2 separate regions of the Homo sapiens genome follow, and region 2 is linked to region 1. Evidence: promoter capture Hi-C in 16 types of primary human blood cells and fetal thymus (Javierre and others, 2016). All regions are on one chromosome and are shown on one strand. The core of a region is centred on a gene start or on the middle of the fragment in contact, and the rest is flanking DNA. Distances in the headings are between cores, read along the strand shown. Region 1 holds the start of CCDC148 (coiled-coil domain containing 148). Region 2 overlaps GALNT5 (polypeptide N-acetylgalactosaminyltransferase 5).

Region 1 (2,700 bases), core at 109-2,608:
AGCGGCCACGGCCGCCGCGGCACCTCCACTGCCCGCGCTCGCGGTGTGTCGCACTCAGCCAACACGCAGCCAAATCCCGGCCCCGCCGCTCGCTCTCCGGGTAGCGGTCCAGGGGAGAGGGCCGGCAGCCTCGGCAGCGGGCGGGGATACCAGATCCGCCAGGGAGGTGCCGCAGCTCCGCTTCAACTCCTGGCAGGGAGAGGAGGAAGCGGCGGCGCAGGAGGGCAGCGGCGAGGCTCGGCGCTGGGGAGCCGGGAGGGGTGGAGCGTGAGGATCCGCGGCCGGTAGAGAGGGGCGCACTAGGCAGAGGGGTGGGCAGGACCGGCAAGGAGTACAGGACTTCGGGGACAAACGCAAGACCGCGCGGGCAGCAGGGGCGTGGGAAGACGGGGAGGGGACCAAGGTGCAGGATCTGGGGCTAGAAGGACAGACAGCCGGCCCCGAGTGCTGAGGAGGGCGGGCGCCCAGTGGTGTCGAGGGCGACTTGGGGCGCGCGGCGGCAGGCAGCGGGGAAGCCGCCGCGAGGGCGTCCAGCAGGGCTCAGCGCGGCGCTCAAGTTCGGGGCTGGGAGCTCTGAATCCGAACAGCCCAGCGTGGGCAGAGGTCGTGCGCTGCGCGTACGGGAGACCGGGGAGAGGAATCGCCGGGAAAAGCAAATGGAGGGTGAAACTTGTGCGCCTGCCGGGGGGAGGGGAGCAGCAGGCGAGTGCGGGCAGGAACACGAGGCGGGGCAGGAAAGCCGCGGCGGCCGCGAGGCGCTGGGGACGCGGCAGCGGGAGGGAGGCCCCCGGCCCCCGGCGCGCAGGTCCTGGCCCTGGCGCGTGTTCGGGGCGAGGGCCGAGGGTCTCGTGGGCAGGAGTCTCCGCGCCCTCCCGCGAGCCCACACACTTACTTTCCAGCTTAGGCAGCGGCCGTCGTCGCTCCAGGGATCAGGGACATCGGCGCCGAGGGGTCGCCGCTGCGGCACCCGAAAAAATTAAAAAAGTGCCGCGGCGGCGCGGCTGCCCGCCCCTCCCTCCCCCACCGGCCCCCGCCCCCGGAGCGGCTCTCCCACCACCCCCGGCGGCGGCGGTGGCCAACTTGCCCCTCTACCCCTTGCCCATGGTGCCGCCTCCGCGGCCGGCGTCGACGCGGACTCAGCCCCGGAGCCCCCTCTACTGCCCAGAGGCCGCCGCCGCCGCCCGCCCCGCTGCCAGCCCTCCCGCCCGGCCAGCCCCGGGCTCCCGGGAACGTCAGCACGCCGCCGTCCCCGGGCCAGCTCCCGCCACCCCATTGGCGGGAAGGAGAGGGCTGGCCCTCCCCATTGGCCCGGCCCTCATATTGAACAGGCCAATGGGAGCTGCGGTTTCAGGTCGCCATAGAGACCGATGCTGTTCAGCGCGAGAGGGCCTGGAGAGGGTGGGTGTGAGAGAGAAGGTGTCTCAGGTCTCGGGCGCGGGAGGGGGTGGCGGAGAGGACAGGGAGATTCCCCAGCGCTGGCTCTGAAATCTGGGGCAGGCTTTCCTTGCCTTACTGCCAATCCCAACTGTGCCTGGTAGGGTTTGTCCCTGGCGTCAAAGGTAGGAACAGCTGAGCCCTTAGATGTACCCCTGACGGCGAGAGCCCAGGAGTGGGCGTTTCACTTTTCCTGCGTTTGGGGAGTCCCTGAGGCTATGCCCTTTGACCTTTGACATGTGTGCAGCTTCTGCTTCTCCAGGTGAGTTTGCACCCCATCCCTTCCATCGCTGCTTCCTCCTGACGTCACTGAGCCACCTAAATCCTACTTATGTTTGTTCTCTGCAGCCACTCCCCCTTCCCTGGGGTGGATCTTTCCTCAACGTTTTGGGTCCTCAAACTCATAACTCTTCTGAAAGACTCAAAGAGGATTTCCTTTGAGGATATTTTGGTAAGGGAACGAGGTGGCGGATTGTATGATAGATGCCAAAGCGTCAACACATGAGCTAGCCTGTTCCCTGATTCTCAAAGCAAACCTCTAATCTCCCTGTGGGCAGATATTTATTAAACACATCTGTGTGTACATCCCGCACTATGAGCTTGACAGGTGCATGTTCTTTCACTTGAGAGGTTACAGGCTTGTTAAAGATAGAGGAAACAGAAACAATCCTTCACACCTTGTGATGATTTCACAAAAGAGTAAGGGAAATGGATTACAGTTGATGGATTTTGTTTTCTATTTTCCAGTATCTCTTTAAATTTGATATGGAAATAACCTGAGGCATGAAATCAGTACACGCAAAAATCTTGAGCTTTAATAATGTCTTCTACTTTCATTTAAAATCATTTTGTGGTGGTTTATCAATACTAATTGTTTTTTGTCAATAAATTTTATGTTTAGATATCACCTTCTTAAAGTGAGATTTCATGAACATATTAGGCTTTAAAAGATGATATTGCTCTAGCCTATAGCCACTGATATTCTTACATTCTTTTGGCGATTTTACTTTTTTTAGACTAATCTCTTTAGTAAGGAGACTATGTTACTACCCCTCAAATTGGAGGGACCATATTGTGTGAAAAAGCTGATAGGATTTTGGAAATTACAAATATTTTGTTGGGAGAAACAGGTTAATGTGTGTGCAAGCTGCATATGTCTAAGTATTGTTCTGAATTTTAAGTTGGGTGATATGCTTTGCTACTGGTTTTTATCTTACTATAATTGAAGATTACAAAGATGTAACCTAAGAAATGTTAATATGGTGC
Region 2 (2,700 bases), core at 109-2,608, 1.2 Mb after region 1:
TTATTTTCTTGTCTTAAGTTTATCTAATGCATATACTAAAAGTCAATGCACCTATAAGAGTTATGAGCTATGTTCCCTGACTGACCCCTTCAAGCCTTTTGACTGCTTAAGCACTGAATCATAGATAAATTGAGTCCTTCAAAGAACAGCAGATTCCAGCTGATTCCCTGTCAGAATCTTCTTAATGACCCAAGCAAGCTACAATTCATTATAGGAAAGTCACGAAAGCTAATACAGAGCCAAGCATAAAGGCACTTTCTGGCAGGCCCCCAGGTTTTTAATGGATTTACAGGGTCAAATATGGAGGTAGCTTTCTTTAAGTCACCATTTAATGCAGAAAAATGTTGATTTCCTTTCCCCCTTTGACATCCTGGGCAGGGCTAACAAGATGATGGGTTAACAGTGCAACTTAGGGTTTTCAGATTTCTCGAACAGCTGTGCAGAGCCGAATCTATAGGACATGTCCTGGGAAAGCCTCCTGAGCTGGGAGGAGCTGAAGTCTTTGTTGCCAGGGACACTATTTGTGTCCTTCCTGTTCTATGATGCCTAACAAAGAGCTCTAACTCAGGGTGCTGCACTGATGCAGACTGGATGCTCACAGAATTGCCAGACTTCATAAAAGGGGGCTCAGTACATTGGTCCTCAATTTTACATGCTTAGCTTAGTGAACAAGAAAGTAAGGGACATCTTCAGGGATCAGAATATGCGGAAAAAATTAAAGGCTACAGGGAAACTTGCAAAGGTTGGCAAGAAAGACTTGTTCCCTCATATGGATGGAAGAAAAACAGAGGTATGTGTAAACCAAAAATCTGGAATTCAGGTCTTCCACATAACAGCGGAAAAACAGATCTTCAGTTGAATGCTGCACTGGGAAAAACAATTTGCCCATTAGCAAAGGGAGAAAACAAGGAAGCTGGATTGTCCCTGAGAATCTGAAACTTTACACCAGGCTTCATTTGGATTTGAGATGAATATTTACACCACCTGCCTTGGATAGGAACCATCACAGACTTTCAAGGCATAGAAACAAACATTAAAAATAGTACCAGGTTGTTAATTACTTCTGAGGTGCCTGGCACAGGCAGAAACAAAGCAACTATGGAAGGATGGAATCTCTATCAAAAATCCTCAGAGAAAGCTCTATTAGCAATTTAAAATGACAAATATGGGAGGAGACAGCTCACTGTTAGTAAATGTGGGCATCACAAGGCACAGAAGGATTCAATGCCCCCACAGTCCCACCCCTGAACTTCAGAGAGGAAGGTGAATAGAAAGACATGAAGGTAGAATAATCTCGGGGCTTAAAGGAAGGAAAGCATGCTGCAATTGCTCTCTGTACTGAAGCAGAGATAAATATTATGTAAGCTCCTGTATTTGTGGATCATGCAGAAATATTCTATCTTCAAACAAATTTGGAAAATTCTGGTTTCCACAGAGCCGAACAGGTGGTTCTACTCCAGAACTTCTCAAAATCTTCAGGGTGTTAATGTTCAGCTTGCTGTCAGAATGTTGTACAAATGTTTCTCAAATGTGCTTGACCATGGAACCCTGAGACAGCACAAGTAACATTGGTCAGGACAGTGTTTGGGAACCCCCTGTTTAACTATTTGTGTCTATTTTGTATAATCCTTCCAAGAACCGAAAAGCATTGGAAGGAAAGATAAAACTTTTCTGTCCCTTACATGTCCCTCCCTCATTTGACCTGAAGATTTTTTTTTCCTTTTTCTTAGAAATTACTGAGGAAACTATTTAATTGAGGTTTTTGCCATGGAAGGTACTTTTACACCAACCTAATACTTTTCTTCATATAGACATCATCTCTGAAGTGTTTTGGAATTGTTATTCTTCATTTCATTATTAGTTGTTTTCAGAATTTTCCTTTTTATTTAAAAATAATTGATCCATGTTTTTACTGTAAACCATTTTAATCTTTAAAAAAAATAGGCAGTGTATGAATTTTAAATTATCCATGTTGTATTATTTCATTTTCCAATTTAGGAAGTAGACATTCCGCACAATTTATGACAGAATTGTTAAACATTAGGCTATTTGCCAGCGGTTTAATCCAGTGTAAAAATACATTATTGGTGAGATTCTTTCATTAGCTTCAAATGTTGTCGTTTCAATAAGAAAATATTTCTTCTTATTACAAAAAACCAAAACTTTCACTGGATTTAAATTTCTGCTTGTGGAGGTTGAAAAAAGGGAAACGGAGCTATAGACTGTTTGCCAGCAGTTTAATCCAGTGAAAAATACATTATTGGTGAGATTATTAGCTTCAAATATTGTTGGTTCGATAAGAAAATGTTTGTTCTTATTACAAAACACAAAACTTTCACTGGATCTAAATTCCGTAGTGGAGGTTGAAAGAAGGGAAACGAAGCAAGTAACAAAAAGAAGTTGTGGAGTTTATTTTCTTGGAACTTTCCACGATTGTCTATCTAAAATAATGATCTACTTAATTTGTTGTAAATTACCTGGAGAAAGGTCCTAATTTTTTAAAAATGTTAATAACGCTCCCTGCTGGTTTGCTTCAGAAGGGAGCAAACTACATCTTCACTGAAATTTGTTTAAGGAAGACAACAAAGGAAAATAGAAGGAATTTGTTAAAATCACTTTTTAAAATACTTGGTGCATTTTGATATAGTATAGCGGAGGCATCAGCAGAAGGCTGTTTCATTAGGAGAGCTCTCCAGAAAT

Evidence for each region. Contacts are between HindIII fragments. The CHiCAGO score rates a contact against its expected background, and 5 or more counts as called.
Region 2: a contact is called between a fragment that was not itself captured here and the fragment with the promoter of CCDC148 in region 1, in 1 of 17 cell types (neutrophils). The highest score is 7.3, in neutrophils.

What each region holds. Positions count from the first base shown.
Region 1 is chr2:158,455,411-158,458,110 of GRCh38, reverse strand. It overlaps CCDC148 (coiled-coil domain containing 148), which reads left to right and starts at 1,358. Exons shown (of 14, transcript NM_138803.4): 1 at 1,358-1,696. The coding sequence starts at 1,672. It overlaps PKP4 (plakophilin 4), which reads right to left and starts at 1,159. Exons shown (of 22, transcript NM_003628.6): 1 at 893-1,159. LOC124907900 reads left to right here. Exons shown (of 1, transcript XM_047446754.1): 1 at 1-980. The coding sequence starts at 657. The coding sequence ends at 980. RefSeq lists silencers at 160-379, 410-469, 490-539, 790-839, 1,060-1,429 and 1 more. The HindIII fragment of the contact is 15,946 bases long and covers 1-2,700 here.
Region 2 is chr2:157,302,740-157,305,439 of GRCh38, reverse strand. All of the region lies in intron 7 of GALNT5 (polypeptide N-acetylgalactosaminyltransferase 5), which reads right to left. Among named protein-coding and RNA genes, the nearest start is that of ERMN, 22 kb to the left of the region's middle. The HindIII fragment of the contact is 2,838 bases long and covers 1-2,700 here.